Linked DNA regions of Homo sapiens: regions 2, 3, 4, 5, 6 and 7 are each linked to region 1. Evidence: promoter capture Hi-C in 16 types of primary human blood cells and fetal thymus (Javierre and others, 2016). All regions are on one chromosome and are shown on one strand. Each heading gives the region's core, a stretch centred on a gene start or on the middle of the fragment in contact. The rest is flanking DNA. Distances are from core to core; before and after follow the strand shown.

Region 1 (2,700 bases), core at 95-2,594:
TTGAGACAGTGTTACTCTTGTTGCCCAGGCTAGAGTGCAATGGCACGATCTCGGCTCACTGCAAACTCTGCCTCCCAGGTTCAAGTGATTCTCCTGCCTCAGCTTCCTGAGTAGCTGGGATTACAGGTGTGCACCACCACGCCAGGCTAATTTTTGTATTTTTAGTAGAGATGGGGTTTCACCATGTTGGCCAGGGTAGTCTCGAATTTCTGACCTCAGGTAATCCACCCTTCTTGGCCTCCCAAAGTGCTGGGATTACAGGCGTGAGCCACCTCGCCTGGCCATCTTTGATGCCTTTTAGGAGAACACTTGATTAGCATTAGTGTCCTAAGTCACTAAAGAGAAATGGAGAAAATGGTGAGATTTTACTTTTGAGGACAATTAGTTTCTACATCTTCTCAAATAATCCATATCCTTAAGAAAGTGATTTTTAAATTTAGTAACTTCAAGCAATATGGCTCATGACATTTCTCATAGTTTCTATCACTTTCCTGGAAATCACTGATTTCCTTGCATTCATTTTTTTCCTTACTCTTTCATGAAGAGTATTAAAGATTTGGGATATAATTTATCCTCAGTGAGTACCAAAATCTCTCACTAGTATGTAGTGGTGTCTGGTCACAATAGCCACTGAGTGTCTGTCTTTGTACCATCAACCATTATTCCTGCAGTAGTACTTCCATCTCTATTATTTTTATTTATTGATTTTTTGAGACAGGGTGCTGCTGTGTCATCTAGGCTGGAGTGCAGTGGTGTGATTATAGCTCACTGCAGCCTCGACCTCCTGGGCTCAAGCGATTCTCCTACCTCAGCTTTCTGAGTAGCTGGGACCACAGGTGCATGCCACTGCGCCCAGCTAATTTTTTATTTTTATTTATTTATTTTTTTTGTAGAGATGGAGTCTCACCATGTTGCCCAGGCTGGTCTTGAACTCTTGGGCTCAAGCAATCCTCCTGCTTCAGTCTCCCAAAGTGCTGGGATTACAGGTGTGAGCCACTGCACCTGGCCCCATCTCTCTTAATAAAAAACATATAGACTTGTCTCTCAAAGAACTTATGCTATTAAGTCAGGAAGGATGAACAGCACACAATCACACTCAGACTTACCCATTTTGGAATTCCTATAGTGATTGCTATTTTCAACCACTCAGTGTCAGAGGTCACAGCCCCTTCCCCAGGGCAACTGCTTCCCTGACCTCCTTGGAAAAACATCATACTCACAGCATGAACTCTGGGTCTGGGTACTAGTCCCAGCTGTAGCCCAGAGAAGGCTCAGGAGGTAGAGGGCAAACCAGGCCATCTCACTCTCTCGTCTATGTCTCTCATCCACAGGTACCGCGATTTGCAAGTGGAATATTTCTTTACCTTCTCTTATATGTGCTTCCCTTTGTTAAATAATCTGTCCCCAACCCAGCCTCTCCTAACTGCCCCTGTGCTGACCTCTCCTTTCCTGATACAAGTAAGTAAATTTTCATTTGCTTATCTAAGTTTACCGACTATAGACCCTCCAAGGTGTCTGAAGGTGACTTCTAGGTTGCACAGTCATATGAGAAACCTGGGGCTGGGTATGCAGTGAAGGCAATGTTGAGAAAATGTCCTTTACCAAAGGCCTGGGTCAGACATCAGGAAGTTTGGATAATGTGCTAGTATCAACAAGACCTCTTCTAGCCCTTATTGTATCCAATCAGTTACCAGGCTGCTTTTTAGTAACTACTTCACTGGGATTTAGGCCATTCATAGGCATCAGCTCATTTTATGATCCTAGACACCTGCTTTACAACATGTCCTTTTAGGCTCTCAGGCAGGGATCTGCCAGGTGACATCTGGCTTTGTGAAATTAATGATGTCTACCTGGACCTGGATTCTAGCCTAGACTCTTTGAAGTTGTTTGACTTTAGGCAAGAAATGGACCTCGGTTTCCCAGAAATGGTTTTGTTTGATTTCTCTTTCCTTATCTGGAGATAAAAGCCATCTCAAACACCCAAAGCTTTCAGATATTATCTTTTAAAGTAAGTAATTAGAAAATGTGAGATCCATTAAGAATACATATTTCAGATGTGTAGCTACATTATAATGCAAATTATACTTCTTTATAAGGGAGAACTGAAAATGGTATGTTGAAATTATAAAGAAAGGAGTTTTGTTTGTTTTTTTCCTGCATGTAAAGTAGCTCATTTTAAGGGGATATTCTCCAGTGGCGCCCATCTTAGCATAAAAGTCAAAGCCCTTTTCATGACCTATAAGACCTTAGAAGATCTGGCTCCTGGTTTCCTTTCTGACCTCAGCTCCAGGCGTTTTCCCCTTTGCTCACACCGCTCCCATCACACAGAACTTCTTGTGCCCCTTGAACACATCAGCTACCTTTGCACATGATGTCCCCCTCAGCCCAGGACCCTCTTCTTTTAAATAGCCTCATGGTGGCTTCCTCACATCCTTCATGTCTCTGCTCAGAGGTAAGCTTTTAGAGACGCCTTCCCAGGCCACCCTACATAAGATCCTACATCCTCACCTCCACTGACACCCCTCATGCCCCTCGCCTGCTATAACTCATTGCCCTCTGTCGCACTAAGTGTGTGGTTGTTTATCGTTTGTTTATCTCCCTACTAGAATGTCTGCTCCACGAGGGAGGGGCTTTGTCTCTTTGGCTCACTGCTCTATCCTTAGCCCTTACAACACTACCTAGCTCACAGTAGAAATAAAA
Region 2 (2,700 bases), core at 129-2,628, 380 kb after region 1:
AGGGGAAGTAACCTGAAGAAAAAGGAGTGTATACAAGGGAAGAAAAAAAGAAGAGCAAATCTGATGTTTTCTTGACGTCTGGGCCTGAGGACATGAACATGAGTAAACAGCGTTCTTAAAATAGGAGCTGGAGTACAATTATCTCATGGCATTATAAATGGGTCAAAAAATTAAAACAACTTATCAAAATTTATGGGATGTAGTGAAAGCAGTGCTTAGAAAAAATTTATAACATTGAATGAATATATTAGAAAATAATGATCAAAATCAATCACCTGAGAGTCTACCTTAAGAAACTGGAAAAAGAAAAGCAAATTAAACTCCAAGTAAGCGGAAGAAAAAAAAGTAATAGAAATTAGAGCAGAAATCATAAAATTAAAAACAGAAAATTAATAGACAAACTCAATGAAATCCAATGCTTTTTTTTAAAAAAAAGAAAAATACATAAATAAAATCAATAAGCCTTTAGCCAGTCTAAGAGAAAGAGAGAGAGGACACAGATTACTCATAAGTGAAAGGGGGAATATCACTACAGTTCCCATAGTAATTAAAAGGATAATAAAATAACTCTACGAACAATTCTGTGCCCACAATTTGATAACCTTGAGCCAATGAATTGCTCCTTAAAGACAATTTGTCAAAATTCACACAAGAAGAAATAGGCACTCTGAATAAGCCTATAATTATTAAATAAATAAAATAAATAATTAATTAATTTTCAAAACAGAAAGCACCAGGCCTGGAAAGGTTTGGAATTCTACCAAACACTTGAAAATGAAATTATACCAATTCTTTACAGAAAACAGAAAAAGAGGAAATACTCCCTAACTCATTCTATGGAGCTAGCACTATTATCTACCAAAAAAAAAAGTCAAAAACATTACAAGAAAAGAAAACTGCAGACCAACATCTCTGGTGAACAAAGATGCAAAAATTCCCAACAAAACATGTGCAAACTAAATCTAATAGTGTATCAAAAGAATTATATACCATAACCATATGGGATTTATCCCAGATATGCAAGGCTGACTAGACATTCAAAAATCAATGAATGTAACTAATGACATCAACAGGCTAAAAGGAAGAAAAATCACATGATTATATCAACAGATGCAGGAAAAATATTGAGCAAAATCCAATGCCTGTTTATTATAAAAACTTTTGAAAAACTATTAATAGAGGATAACTTGTTTAGGTTGATAAAGAATATTTATTAATAAAACTACAGCTAACTTCATACTTAATGGAGAAATTCAAAGCTTTCTCACTAAGATCAGGACCAAGGCAGGGATAAGCCTGTCACTACTCCTTTTACCATTTACTGGAAGTCATAGCTGAAATGGTAAGACAAGAAAAGGAAATAAAGGTATACAATTGGTAAGGAAAAAAATAAAACTGCTTTTATTCACAGATGACGTGATTGTCTGTGTAGAATATCTGAAAGAATCAACCAAAAACTCCTGGAATTAACAAATGATTATATTAAGGTTGTAGGATACAAGCTTAATACACAAGAGTCAATTACTTTCTTATGTACTTATAGTAAATAAGTGAAATTTGAAATTAAAAATGCAATACTATTTAAATTAGCAACCCTAAAAATTAAATATTTAGGTATTGGTATTTGGTGTTTGTTAGGCATAAATCTAACAAACTATGTACAAAATCTATAAGAGAAACTTAAAAAAAAATAAGTCGAATAACTAAATAAATGGAGAGATATTCCATGTCCATGGATAGGAAGACTCAACATTGTCAAGACATCAGTTCTTCCCAATTTAATCTGTAGATTTAATGCAATCTCCCTCAAAATATTAGCAAATGGCCGGGCGTGGTGGCTCACCCCTGTAATCCCAGCACTTTGGGAGGCCGAAGCGGGCGGATCACGAGGTCAGGAGATTGAGACCATCCTGGCTAACATGGTGAAACCCCATCTCTACTAAAAATACAAAAAGTTAGCCAGGCATAGTGGCAGGCGCCTGTAGTCCCAGCTACTCCAGAGGCTGAGGCAGGAGAATGGTGTGAACCCGGGAGGCAGAGCTTGCAGTGAGCTGAGATTGGGCCACTGCACTCCAGCCTGGGTGACAGCGCCAGACTCCATCTCAAAATATATATATATATATTAGCAAATTATTTGTGTATATTGATAAACTGACTCTAAAGTTTATAGGGAAAGGCAAAAGACTTAGAATAACAAAAACAATCTTGAAGAAGAAGGAGTTTTAGGAGTAACACTACCCATCTTTAGGACAAACTATAAAGTGATAGTAATCAGGACTGTGTGATATTGGCAAAGAAATAGACAAATAGATCAAGGGAATAGAATAGAAAGCCTAGAAATAGACACAGAAGTATAGTCAAGTGATCTTTGATAAAGAACTAAGATAATACAATTAGAAGAATAGTCTTTCCAAAAAAAAAATACTACTTAAAAAACTGGACCTCCATAGGCAAAAATTGAACTTAGACACATACCTTGTATCCTTCACAAAAATTAACTCAAAATAAATCACAGACCCAAATGTTGAACTCAAAACTCTGAAACTCTTAACAGATGACATAGGCCAAAATCTAGATGACCTTGGTTTTGGTGATGAGTTTGTCAATACAATACCAAAGGCACAACCCATGAAATACCGAATTAATCATCTTAATTTTATTAAAATTAAAAAATTCTGCTCTGCAGAAGACACTGTCAGA
Region 3 (2,700 bases), core at 165-2,664, 400 kb after region 1:
CAAAATATATATTTTTTAACTGCAGAGAATATTGGATACATATGAGGGAGGGACATTTCTTTCAGGTTGGAGAAGAATCTAAACCTTGGTTTTGCCACATCACCTATATGCATCAGGTTCTTGACAACTACAATGTCTTCCCCGCCCCTCCTCCCCACCCCGGATAAAGAGGTGGGGTAACCTAGACCACCCTTCCCTCTTCTATTGGCCCCAGTCTCCTTGTGGATCAGCAGCACCAGCAGTCTCTTGTTTCCTCATTTTTATGTCACCATCCCCCTTATGGGTCACAACACAAGAGAGCATGAGGAGAGTGGTATACACGGTCATCCCCTTTTTCTTGGCAGAGTTATCAAATAGACTAGAAACCCAAAATGAGGCCTGAATCTGGATGGTTTTTAGGAGGATGATGGGGATGCAGAAATGGTGGCATGGGAAGGGAAAAGGGGGAAAGGCCTGGGCTAGGAACCAAGAATTCTGGGTTTTTTGCTCCTAGCCCTTTTGTTAACTTGTGTGATTCTAGGTACATTATTTCCCTTTTCTGGATTTCATTTACTTCATCTGGGGAAAGATTACAATGACTACGACTACTTACAAGCTTCTTTCTTATCCTAAGAATGCTAAAAGTCTACAAGATGTTTTTCATTTGCAGATTTTATCATGAGCAGCCTCAGTTTACTGCCTGGGTGCCACATGAATAGTGCCAAAGACCACTGGAGAACTACGTCAGGCCACAGCCCATCTAAATGTACAAGGCTGGGGACCCTGCCTGTGCCCTACTCCATGTACACCAAATTCTGCACGTGCTAGATCTTTTCTTAAGTCTTGAATTATAAAAATAACCAGTCAGAGACAAAGAATAAAGACCATGGAAGAAGTGCATTAACAGTAGATGAGGTAATTAATCAAAGTTTAAAATGTTGCTTACAGTGTTTTGGTATCCTGAGAACTTACGGAACAAAAGTAACTAAAACAACTTCATCCAGCCTCCAGTGTCAGCCTTTAGGAGGCTTTTCTAACTCCCATCAACTGTAGCGAAGACTGTTCCTCAACCACCCACAACCCTCACCAAATGCATATTTAAATGTGCACTCAATCCACCCCAACCCTGACTACCAGCTTGGGTCATGGGAAGTGACCTCATTTTTTTTTCTCACTCCACTCCCAGAAATCCTAAACCCAGGAAATGAAACAAACTATCAGTCCGAGAGCCTAGGAAGGCAAGTCCCTGGACCTACCTTTCTTCAGGCCTGCAATGTCTGCTGCAGGTCTGATGAGTGCAGGGCTCTGGGCAAGTTCCTCAAAGTTCTTTGTTCCAGACACAGTCAGCTTCCCCCACTCCACACCTCACTCAGTTTAAATCTGCACTCCTTTTCTAGTAGATGTTTGGAACCTTAAAGGATGTGTTGAGAACTTCTGAGACACACAACTAGTTCCTCTTTTTTATCGGAAGCATTAACTGATTTTGCGTTCCCAATATGGGTGTGGACGTTTATTTTGAAATTTGCTGAAAAAGCAGTGGCTGCCTGATACAGTCTTTCCTATGAAAATAATAGTGCTAATTACTGTGGGTATCAGTGGTGGAGGATTTTCTGTTTGCCAGACTCTGCTCAAAGATTGTTATATACACAACTAAGTAAATGGTAATTTATAAATGCCCCCTTTCACAATTTCACACATTTCCACAGTACTCTTCTTCCCAGAGAACTACTGTTACTATTGTATTAGGTTGGTGAAAAAGTAATTGTGCCTTAATATACACAACTTAAATATCTTATTTTCATGATATTTCACCTTTGGAGGTTCAACATGAATAGCCACAAAATGGGAACAAGTTGGTTGTACAGCAATAATTAATACAACACCTTTCTAAGTCAAAGAAGCAGCTGGTATCATAGAACAAGCTGGTCTTTGACTAAGACAAACCCAATGGCAATCATTTCTTGTATGACCTTGTTAATCCCCTGAACCTGATTCATTGGTAAAATAAAATAATGCCTTCTTTACATGGAGGAAAGCAAAGTGGCATGCAATTTTCATTCACTCAGCATTTTCTTAGAGAAAAGCTACTATAAGCCAAGCAGTGTGCCATGTGCTTCAGATAAAATGGTGAAAAATGATTTTCGCTCAAGGATTTTATAGGCTACTTGACAATATAGACAAGTAAATAAATCACCCATTATAATCAGTTACCTGCAAGGTAAAGTGGCAATGCTGATGAATAAATAAATCATTACAACCCATTATAATCAGTGATCTGCAAGGTAAAATTGGATATCCTGAGAGAGCTCATAGGAGGATCAAAGAACTCAACGTTGGGTAGGTAGGCAGAGGAGACTTCCTAGATAAAGGGACATCTAATTGGAGACCTGATGAATAAGCAAAAGACACACAAATGGAAGAAGGATGGAGCTAGGTAACATTATTATTCCCATTTTCCAGAAGATGGAACTGAAACTCAGAGATATTCATATAGCTGGTATAGATGAGATTGAAATCCAGTTTTGCCTAATCCCAAAAACTTTGTTGTCTATAATCTGAAATTATTTTAATTCTCAGAATTAAATGGGTTATATTTCAGAAATATTGTCCTGGTTTTCATGTAAAGCAACAATAGGAATAAATAATACTGAAATCAGGGAGTTAGGGTTAAGAAAGAGGCAGTTCTCTAGGGAAGGGATGATGGTTACTGAACTACCTATG
Region 4 (2,700 bases), core at 201-2,700, 340 kb after region 1:
TAAATAAGAAAATGCAAAATAAAGTTTAAGTTATGAATGCAAATAATATACCTATTGCATATATGTGTGGCCCAGAGTTAATGCTGAAGAAATATTTGCAGTTACCCTTATTGTTCACCCTGGTTCACACAGCCGGGAAGCTGTAAAACCAGTCTTGGATCTCAGCTTTCCTGGAGTCTGAAGCCTTTGCATAAATCTCTAGATCATTCTACCTCTTCCTAATTTCCCACCTGGCATTGCCAGCCTGTGTCTGAGTTTACTCAGGCTGGAGAAACAGCTGCATGCAGTGGTATGAGAACAAGTCTTGGACTCATAACACATAGGCTCGCGTCGTTGGTCCTCCCCACTTTTTAGCATAAAGACCAAGTAGGTTGTGGTATTTGTTGCTAAGCTCAGCTTGGATCCCTTTTCACGGCACCATTCTCAAAGCACAGACCGCCCAGTTTACAAATGGTCTAAACACATTTGAAGAGACAAGAGCTCTGCTCCCATTAATTACACAACCTTAGGTAAGTGACTCACTGAGTTTATGCAATTAGAATACAGCGGACACAGAGTTAAAAACAGATACTCCTTCCATTTGCCCACTCTATTTCCAAAAGGCCCTAGTGTCTCTTAACTGCTGTCAAGGAGTTTCAAGTTAAATTACTCCTCTAATGAGGTCACGGCAAGGGAATAGTGAGATGAGAAAAGTCTTCCAGCATTACCTACCTGTGCCCGTTGGTTCCAGCTGAGTCCTCAGAAGCTCCAAAGAGGTTTTAACTCTGGTTTCTCAGTCCCATCAACGGTTTCTACTTACCTTCATCTTCTGAAAGTCATCAGCCCTTCCTTATTCCAGTGTTTACAGCTATACAGGATGTGATACTCACAGATTGTAGATTTGTGAAATGTTCCTGCACTTCCTTTTCTGTAAACTTCTAGCAACTTCAGTAAAACCATGAAAAGAGCCAACTAATATTTGTGAGAGTTCAGGAGTCATGGAGCCTTATGTGTGAATTGCCACTTCGAGACATACAAGTTTCCTGTTGTTAGGCAAGTCTGTTCTTGAAGCTTCAGTTTTCTAATCTGTTAAATAGAGGAGCAATACCAACACTGGAGAATTGTCATAAAGATGAGCAAAAATATTTATAAAAAGCCTATGCTGCTTTGAAGCTTTCAATAACATGTAACTAATAACAGTAATAGTGCTAGTAATCATAATATAGAGAAAGAACAATATTCCACTGTCTATAACTAACCATAATAATAATAATAGCAATAATGACTACACTGCTTTAAAGGAACATTCATTAATATATAGCTAATAGTAATATAGAACATAAAAAAACTTTTAAAAAATTGTTTTTTATATATATAGTTTGTTTGTTTGTTTTGTTTTATCTTGCTTTTCTAATTCCCCAAGTCTTGGCAGGCTGAAAGCAACCTTTCAATACTGATTGCCCAACTGCTGCCTACCCTCAAGTCATCTTCCTCCTCTGGCTGCTCTTTTTCTCTAACAACAGATCTTTGCCCTCCAGAAAGGTTGGGCCCCTCCAGGGAAGCATTGAAATATTGAAACAGAGAAGGAACAAATGGGAAAGATTCAGCAGGACCTAAATGAATTCAGTAAACTCATATGCAGGCTGGTTTTGTGAGGACAGAGGCACTGTGCCCCTTCAAAACCTTGGGTGGCATTCTTTGGAAGCTGACTTCAATGTATCAGGCAAGGAAACCAGAGCCAGTCAGGGCAATGGCAAAGCCCCACCCTGCAAGCTTCCTTCCTCCTTTCCTTGGGGGAGCTTCCAGAATGAACCCAGAAACACAACCTGAACCATCACCGTCACCACAGAGGGCCATGGATTCTGCACTTAATTCCACACATTAACTCTCCTGTTGAAGAAAGGAGTTAAGAAGCACCATTTAGAAGGCTGGATTAGTTCTCAGCGTCTGAATGACACAGACATTATGAAATGTAATTGGCTTGTCTTAAGTTCTAACAATAAATCTGAGAGGAGGAATGGACTCACACAGAAAGCCTGGGGAGAGGGGCAGAATCACCTCCAACCTTGCTCACCCAAGCTCCTGGCGCCCCTTCCTCTTTCGCAGAGTGCCGTCTGTGTTTCCAGTGGGTGCCCTGCATCTTTGTCACCCTCACAGCATCTGTGAAACAGTGGAATGCAGCTCTCCTCCTGAGCTTTGATTAAAAAGGAGCCCAGTCTCTTTGGTCTCTTCAGGAGCAATCACACCCCCTTTCCCTTCAGGGGAATGTGCTAATAAACCAGTTAAAGTTGCCTACCTAAGCAAAGGCTCCCTCTCCAGTCAGTTTTCCTCTCTGTGCTATTTAATTTAAAATCATTTCTGAGTTTTAAGGATTATGTGAGACAACACGTGTAAGGTTCCTAGCACAGAACCCTTCGGAATGATGGCCTAAAAGCGGTCTGTTGACTGTCTTCCTCACCCCCCAATCCTCCCCCCTCTTTTTTTTTCCATTTTGGCTTTAGTAAGCTTAAAACAATTCTCCTTTCTCTTGTCTTTCAGCTTACACTCATTCAGCCTTTTACATTCCCAGTTTTTTCCAGAGTCTGAATTCTACCAACCTAACTACAAGGGAGAAGACTGGTATATCAATAACACGTTCTGATTAATGATCTGGGACAGGTTTCTCAAAAAAGCTACTAATGCCACTTTGGACTGGGTAATTCTTTACAGTAGGTGGCTATC
Region 5 (2,700 bases), core at 60-2,559, 320 kb after region 1:
AATTGTGGTACATATAAAACATGGAATACTATGCGATCATAAAAAACAATGAAAGCTTGTCCTTGGCAGCAACATGGATGGAACTGGAGGCCATTATCCTAAGCAAATGAACGGAAGAACAGAAAACCAAATACTGCATTGTTTTCACTAGCAAGTGGGAGCTAAATATTGAATACATATGAATGTAAAGATGGGAACAATAGACATTGAGGACCACTCACTCGATGGGGAAGGGAGGGAGAGGGGAACAGGTTGAAGAGCCCCTGTTGGGTACTATGCTTACTGCCTGGGTGATGGGATTTTTGGGACCTCAAGCCTCAGCATCATGTAATGTACCCATGTAACAAACCTGCACGTGTACTCTTTAATGTAATGCTGATGCTGATTATGCATTTGATTTCCCACCTTTCAACCCCACAACTTCTCAAGGAACCAGGAAACAGGGTACCATTTTAAAACTTCCAAATTTGTGAAAATAGAAATAAATTTATTACTTGAATTAAGTTCTTTTTCATCAGCTCATGTCACACCAAATCTTTCATGGGACAAAAAGAAACCCACGTTGGTTATGACTCATTGCCTCACCACATGTCTACTGACAATGAGCTCCCAGCCAGTGTCGGCCAGGACACAGTTGTTATTTTTCTTCTATTTTCTGCAATAACAACATCAAAAAAGGCAGTATGTTACCAAGAATAATAGTACCCAAAGTTATCCACATCCTACTCCCTGGAATCTGAGAGTATGCTATGATATCTGGCAAATGATTTTAAAAGTTACAGATAGAATCAAGTTTGCTAAGCAGTTGATCTTAACACAGAGTTTATCCTGGAGAATTATGGCAATTCTAATGTAATAATAAGAGTCCTTATAAGTGGAGAACCTTTCCCAGGTAAGTCTAAGAGAGAATTGAGGATAGAAGAATAGTCAGAGGTGCAACATGAGAAGGACATGATCTGCCACTGCCAGCCTTGAAAAAGCCCATGAGTCAATGAATGAGACAGCCTCAAGGAGCTAGAAAAGGCAAGGTCATGGATTTTTTTCCCTAGAAGCTCCAGAGAGGAAAGTAGTTCTGTAGATAACTTGATTTTTAGCCCAGTGAGACCAGTGTTGTATCCTGACCCACAGAACTCTAAGATAAAATTGTATTGTTTTAAGTCACAAAGCTTGTGGTAATTTGTTACAGGCACAATAGAAAACTAATATAAGCAGTGTGATAATGAGAAATTATAAATCACTCTCCCTCATATATATAGATGTAAGAAACTGAAAAATAAAAGTGGCAAATAGAATAGGAAGATGTATTTTTAAAGCATTTGGTCATGGCCAAATTGAACTCATTCCAGTTATTCATATATAATTTGACAATAGAAAATCTTCGAAAATCACTTACTGCAGAAACACATCAAATAAGAAAAAAAGACTTTGTTAATCTCAACAGAGGTATGCAGACAAAGCTTTTGATAAAAATCGATATATACAATTTTTTAAAGAAATTCATGGAGAAGTATGGCCATTTTAACAATATTGATTATTTCTATCCATGAGCATGAACTGTTTTTTCATTTGTTCATGTCGTCTCTGATTTCTTTCAGCAGTGTTTTGTAGTTCTTATTGTAAAGATCTTTCACCTACTTGGTTAGCTCTACTCTTGGTATGTTATGCTTTTTGTAGCATTGTAAATGAGATTGCATTCTTAATTTGGCTTTCAGCTTGAACATTATTGGTATATAGAAATGCTAGTAATGGTTCTACATTGATTTTGTATCTTGAAACTTTACTGAAGTTGTTAATGATTTCTAGGAGCCTTTTGCTGGAGTCTTTAGGATTTTATAAGTATAGAATCACGTTGTCTGTGAAGAGAGACAATTTGACTTCCTTCCTCTCTTTCTATTTGGATGCCTTTTATTTCTTTCTCTTGCCTGACTGCTCTGGCTAGAACTTCCAGTACTATGCTGAATAGAAGTGATGAGAATAATCATCCATGCCTTTTTCCAGTTCTCAGGGGGAATGCTGCCTGCTTTTGCCAGTTCAGTATGATGCTGGCTGTTGGCTGTGGGTTTGTCATAGATGGCTCTTATTATTTTGAGTTATGTTCCTTTGATGCCTAATTTGTTGAGGGATTTTTAACATGAAGGATGGTGAATTTTATCAAAAACCTTTTTCTGCATCTATTGAGATGTCATATGGTTTTTGCTTTTAATTCTGTTTATGTGGTGAATCATATTTATTGATTTGTATATGTTGAACCAATTTCACATCCCAGAAATAAACCCTACCAAAAATAATAAAATTAAACTTCTGAAAGCAATAAGAAAATGTATTTTAAATGTACAGTAAATAGTATAATTGGTATTGAGATATTAAATTTTTTAAATAATCAAGAACAGCCTGGGCGTGGTGGCTCACGCCTGTTATCCCAGCACTTTGGGAGGCTGAGATGGGCGGATCACGAGGTCAGGAGATTGAGACCATCCTGGCTAACACGGTGAAACCCCGTCTCTACTAAAAATACAAAAAATTAGCTGGGCGCAGTGGCAGATGCCTGTAGTCCCAGCTACTCGGGAGGCTGAGGAAGGAGAATGGTGTGAACCCGGGAGGCAGAGCTTGCAGTGAGCCAAGATCACGCCATTGCACTCCAGCCTGGGTGACAGAGTGAGACTCCGTCTCTCTCGAAAAAAAAAAAAAAGGCTTTATACC
Region 6 (2,700 bases), core at 73-2,572, 300 kb after region 1:
ATCAGGAAGTGGATGGAAAAATGGGGCAAACTTCCCAATACCCAGAGGGTAATAAGTAAAAGGCCAGAATGAGCAGAGATGAAAACCATATTATAAGCAGATCTTGCTGTATTTCTTGGGGAGCAAATCTCAATTCCTGCCTAAGAGAATCAAATAAAGTCTATGAATAGGTAACTCCAGGATTACTAATTATTTCTTTGTCCAACTAGATGTTTTTATTCTTTTTAATCCTCCTAATTGATCATGGTATTTTGACTGTGAGTGTGGGAAAGTACAGACAACATGATTTCCCAAATAACAAGAAAGTGGTTCCAGAATTGTAGGAAAAATAATGTTAAATCATTAAAAATTTCCTGAGATTGTGCTAAGTATAACAAATGTCTGAGACTCTGGATTTTCTACCTCGATGAGAAAATAAGTGCATTTCCTTTTTGGGGAGAGAGTTGAACATTTGGGTGGCCAGAGAAAAGACTGTGTTAGGGCCAGAGAATGTGGATTGTCTAGCAATTTTTATTCTGATCTTGCTTCCTTGAATAGAGCTCCTGGTTTTAACCTAGACATACAACTGCTCAGTCAATAGCTAGATTTCGTCACCACTCATAACTGTGTGTGGTTATATGACAAAGATCTGTCCATATGATGCAGACATAAAGGAAAAAGCTTTAGTTACAACTTTCATACCTTAAAAGAAGCCACACAAGGAAGAAAGCAAAGCTATACTCCCGGGTACGGACTACCTACTCCTGAGCTGTTGCAGAACAGGAAAATCAAATGACAATTTCTTTAAATCACTTTGTATATAGTCCTAGTTCACAGCATGTTAAATGTACTGTATCACAGTAGTATAATTTATCTCTTTCTTTTTGTCACCCAAGGTGAAGTGCACTGTTCAATCAACACTTACTGTAATCTCAGTCTCCTGGGCTCAAACAGTTCTACCACCTCAGTCTCCCAAGTAGCTAGTACTACAGGCATGTGCCACACATCCGGCCAATGTTTTATTTTCTGTAGAGATGGGGTCTCACTCTGTTGCCCAGCTTTGTCTTGAACTCCTGGACTCAAGTAATCCTCTCACCTCAGCTTCCCAAAGTACTAAGATTACAGGCATGAACCACTACGCCAGGGCCAATTTATTTCTTCATTGGGCAATTGACTTTATATACTTTGAGTGTTTTGTTTTGTTTTGTTTTTTGAGACACAATTTCCTTCTGTCACCCAGGTTGGAGTGCAGTGGTATAATCTCAGCTCACTGCAAACTCCGCCTCCCAGGTTCAAGTGACTCTTGTGCCTCAGCCTCCTGAGCAGCTGCGATTACAGACGTGCACCGCCACGCCCAACTAATTTTTGTATTTATAGTAGAGATGGGGTTTCTCCATGTTGGTCAAGCTGGTCTCAAACTCCTGGCCTCATGTGATCTACCTGCCTCCGCCTCCCAAAGTGCTAGGATTACAGGTGTGAGCTACTGCGCCCAGCCTACTTTGAGTTTTTTTGAAGTGAATGGCCTACTTTCATATCCTTACCATGTGCACAGTGTATCAAACAAATAAGTGTTCAATAGATATTAAATCAACTAATGAATCAATTAACAAATAATATTGAATTACTTGGTGTTACCGTTGAGAGTTTCTGAGTATCCTAGGTGTTTATAAATGTAGGGCAAATATGACCAAAATACTGTTTGAGGAGTGGTCCTCAAAAACTATACACGAACAACAGCTGTGCCTTTCTTCCTCTTAACAAATATTTGAAAAATTATATGCAAGATTACTAAATAAAATAATCAATTGCATCCTCATTCTCTCAACTGTTACTCACCCAACTGATTTTACTGCCATCTGCAGTATAGGTGAGTGTGCAGAGAGCAAAAGTAATTGAAAGTTGCAAGCAGTTTAGCATCATCAGTACAATCACAAGGCCCCGTTAAAGAGAACAGAATTCCGTTGGCTGGGATTCCACCTCATGGTCGTATCAAGACTTGTATCCTAAAGCTTCATCTCAGGCCTTTGGAGTCCCCTCCACTTTGCATTAAACAAAATGATGACACGAGTTTGAATCTCAATTCAAAAATATATGTTCTGCTTTTGAAGAAGAAGTGGATTTCAAAAAAATAAAACAAAACACCAACACAAAACAAAACAAAGCAAACAATAACAACAAAAAGCCAGCGTTACTTTGAATTTTAACGCAACAGTGCCTGTATTAAAAAATAGTCTCGGTAACTTTCCAGTATTCCCAACGATCATTTTGCTGAGGGCTTTCAGAGGTTGGAGGGTGGGAGCAGGGAGAGGATCAGGAAAAATAACTAATGGGTACTAGGCTTAATACCTGGGTGATGAAATAGTCTGTACAGCACGTTCCAATGCCACAAGTTTATCTATATAAGAAACCTGCACTTGTACCCATGAACTTAAAATAAAAGTTAAAGAAAAAGGCCCGAAGACAGTCCAATGGATAAGGGTCTAGGGAGAAAGTTCAAAAGTTCCTGATTAATAAACACTTTCATGTGCAAAAAAAAAAAATAGGATCTCTTCTCAGACGTCAGAAAAAAATGCAGTATCTGCACATTTTTTCAACGGATAGGGAATTCATGGAGAAATGGTAATGGACCCAGATCTCCCTACCGAATCTAGTCTCCTAAATAAAACTAAGAAGTCTCCAAAAGTTAGACGTTTCTGGAAATAAATGATTCATCTGACAGAT
Region 7 (2,700 bases), core at 168-2,667, 420 kb after region 1:
TGAGAATAGAATGCCCACATAGTAATCATAGAAAAAATATAAATGGATGAAGTGCAGGACCAGACAATTTAACTAAAGAAATAGAAATGGCCATGCACTTATGCATGAAAAAATGGATTTGAAAGCAAATAATTTGTATAATGAAATAAACGAAAAGTGATGTGTTTTGAAATGCAAAAAGAAAAAAAAAGTGGTTGGTGGAGAAAAGCTCTGAGAGCACCACAAGAGGAACAGTTAAGATATGAAAGTCCCTGGAAAAGAGGAAGCTGGGACAGGACATGCAACATTGCACTTTTCACAGGATCAGCACCAAGAGCTTGGAGTTCAAGTTCCCAGGTACTTTAGTTCAGTAAGACTATGTGATAGCTGTTATGCGGTCATCTGGGGGCTGGTGGTGAAACTCAAGCCCTGCCGTCTTCTTATTGTGTTTAGTCGGAATGTACAACAATTATGCCCATGAGGCAATTTCATGGCATGGCATTGGTATATTTGCTTCAGGGCTAGAGTGACAGTCAAGTGAGGAAGACTGAAGCCGAAGACTGAACATCAGAGTTATACATCTTGACATCCTTTGTCCTTACTTGTATTTTAAAAACCCAGGCCCAGATAACTCCAACACTCGGTTTCTCCTATATCTGACATTTGGAACCTTGTATTATTAGTTCAGAAGAAGTACTGAAGAGGCCTCAGTGCACAGGCTCGGGACTGATCCTGTAACAAAGGTGATCAGATGACACCCAGGCCCAGCTGGTCTCAGCCAAATGGCTCAGGGTTGACCCTAAATATGGAAAACCAGAGAATCAGGACTATGGCTGCCTACCATGCCCTGAATAACCAGTTATATGGATTGTCATCTGGTAGAAATCCTATGCAGGGGGTGTTAATGTCATCCTTTGTGGAGTCTCTTGGTTGGATCTTCAACCACTTAATATTTTCATCAAGAATTTAGTTGCTGATCCTATTTGCAAATGATCCAAAAACAAGAAGTATAATTTATAAAACGAGAGTGTCCAGATTGAAGATACAACCCAAAAGTCTGGAACATGAGCGTTGGAATACAGATCAAATTTAATCAGGTAAAATTAAAGTCCCAAGCTTATGTTTAAAAACAAATCACCTGCACAAACCTGAGATGGGACTAGAACTTGCTTAACAGAAGTTAATGTGAGAAAGGCCTGGGCCCTTCTACTAGTTAGCTGAAAGGATGGAGACAGAAGCAAAAGACTCTCCAAGAAGTCTGCCTTTGCCTCTAGAGCAATGGATCTCAATCTTGTCTGAGCATTGGGATAACTTGGGAAACTTTAACACGTACTAACACATGAGCCCCATTACCAGGTATTCTGATTTAATTAATATGGATTATGGTTGGAGAGTCAAAATTTTTTGTAGCTCTTTAGCGGATTCTACCGTATAGTCAATGTTGCCAATTACTGCTATAAGCCTGTAGATATCAAACTTGAGTGTGTATCAAAATCTGGAGGGCTTCTTAAAACACAGAATGCACACCGAGACTGTCTGATTCAATAGGTCTGGGGTAGGGTATTTGCATGTCAACCACAATGTCAGGTGATACTGATGCTACTACTCTGGGAACCACATTTTAAGAGCTACTGCTCTAGACGAACCTGGAGTTCTCCAGATGCAACTAAAGGCTTTTTAAATTCTACCGCTGGTATTGAGCCAGAATGCATAGAACCTGGCCCTGTGCCTATCTTCTCTTCTGAGTAGGATTTATTCCATAAGCTTTGGCCTTCTCTTTACATCTTCATATCTGTGTCTGGAGGGTAGGGCCAAGTTGGACTTCGGGATACTAAACTGAGGCCTTTTATTGTAAGGACAGAGAGTAGGATGTGATGTCTTGATGCTGCTTCAGGTTACTAGAGGAGACAATGATCTCAGTTCAGAACCAAGCTTAAAGTTATATATCTCTCGGGGACTATTTGTCCCAGGAATGCAAGCTAGGATTTACTTTTCAATCTTTCCCCAGTTTCTTTCCCAAAAGTAACATATCTTTGGGAAGAAATTAGGGTAAATGAGCAATGGTAAGCTCAAATCCTGGCATCAGGAAAATTCTCCTAGCACTCATGGTATGGCCTGTTCACCACTGACCACAAAGACATGTAGAAGGTGGTGCACAATTTTCAGGAGTCCAGAAATACAAACAGTTCTCTTAATACTTGCTCTGTAGTCTCAATTGTTGTCATCTCTTTCCACACACACATGCATGCACACACACGCACACACATGCACACAGGCAGTTCTTACAATATTGAGATGCTTTGCTTAGACTGGGCTGTATATAAGAGACCTGATTTACATCTTATAAAAATAGAACATCAGAGTTAGAAGAGACGTGGAAATCTTTCTACACTGAAATATGAGAAGTCTGTGGCCCAGGGAAAGAAAGTGATTCACGTGAGTCATGAAGGTAATGAATGTATAACCCAGTTTTTCTGTTTTTCCTATTATCCCCTTCATTTTGACATTGAGGTGTCATATTTAATTGAGCCACAAGAGGGAGGCAGTGGACAAGAAATTGTCCTACCTAATTTGAATTCCTACCTAATCTGGTGTCTTCTGGGAAGACCTTATGAAAAGTCAACTCCCAGCTCTGGTCTTGTATACTAGCGCTGGGTTGGGTCCCATTTCTATCCCATATTCTCTGGGAATCTAGTAGATACAGCAAGTCATCCCTCTGAC

What was found. Contacts are between HindIII fragments. The CHiCAGO score rates a contact against its expected background, and 5 or more counts as called.
Region 2: a fragment that was not itself captured here is called in contact with the fragment with the promoter of CBLIF in region 1 in 1 of 17 cell types (naive B cells); the score reaches 5.3 in naive B cells.
Region 3: the fragment with the promoter of MS4A4E here is called in contact with the fragment with the promoter of CBLIF in region 1 in 13 of 17 cell types (erythroblasts, M2 macrophages, M0 macrophages and 10 more); the score reaches 22.6 in erythroblasts.
Region 4: a contact is called between a fragment that was not itself captured here and the fragment with the promoter of CBLIF in region 1, in 1 of 17 cell types (erythroblasts). The highest score is 5.9, in erythroblasts.
Region 5: a fragment that was not itself captured here is called in contact with the fragment with the promoter of CBLIF in region 1 in 1 of 17 cell types (erythroblasts); the score reaches 6.4 in erythroblasts.
Region 6: a fragment that was not itself captured here is called in contact with the fragment with the promoter of CBLIF in region 1 in 4 of 17 cell types (M0 macrophages, M1 macrophages, M2 macrophages and 1 more); the score reaches 9.4 in M0 macrophages.
Region 7: a contact is called between a fragment that was not itself captured here and the fragment with the promoter of CBLIF in region 1, in 1 of 17 cell types (erythroblasts). The highest score is 6.1, in erythroblasts.

The regions. Positions count from the first base shown.
Region 1 is chr11:59,844,155-59,846,854 of GRCh38, forward strand. CBLIF (cobalamin binding intrinsic factor) reads right to left here and starts at 1,345. Exons shown (of 9, transcript NM_005142.3): 1 at 1,221-1,345. The coding sequence starts at 1,299. The HindIII fragment of the contact is 3,325 bases long and covers 1-1,984 here.
Region 2 is chr11:60,225,447-60,228,146 of GRCh38, forward strand. The region is part of intron 3 of MS4A4E (membrane spanning 4-domains A4E); the gene reads right to left. Among named protein-coding and RNA genes, the nearest start is that of MS4A4E, 16 kb to the right of the region's middle. The HindIII fragment of the contact is 243 bases long and covers 1,258-1,500 here.
Region 3 is chr11:60,241,723-60,244,422 of GRCh38, forward strand. It overlaps MS4A4E (membrane spanning 4-domains A4E), which reads right to left and starts at 1,415. Exons shown (of 9, transcript NM_001393391.1): 1 at 1,236-1,415. The HindIII fragment of the contact is 3,157 bases long and covers 594-2,700 here.
Region 4 is chr11:60,182,267-60,184,966 of GRCh38, forward strand. It overlaps MS4A6A (membrane spanning 4-domains A6A), which reads right to left and starts at 817. Exons shown (of 6, transcript NM_022349.4): 1 at 712-817. The HindIII fragment of the contact is 600 bases long and covers 1,151-1,750 here.
Region 5 is chr11:60,165,158-60,167,857 of GRCh38, forward strand. No RefSeq gene overlaps it. Among named protein-coding and RNA genes, the nearest start is that of LINC02705, 2.1 kb to the left of the region's middle. The HindIII fragment of the contact is 291 bases long and covers 1,165-1,455 here.
Region 6 is chr11:60,145,270-60,147,969 of GRCh38, forward strand. No RefSeq gene overlaps it. Among named protein-coding and RNA genes, the nearest start is that of LINC02705, 18 kb to the right of the region's middle. The HindIII fragment of the contact is 1,328 bases long and covers 659-1,986 here.
Region 7 is chr11:60,263,292-60,265,991 of GRCh38, forward strand. No RefSeq gene overlaps it. Among named protein-coding and RNA genes, the nearest start is that of MS4A4A, 16 kb to the right of the region's middle. The HindIII fragment of the contact is 648 bases long and covers 1,094-1,741 here.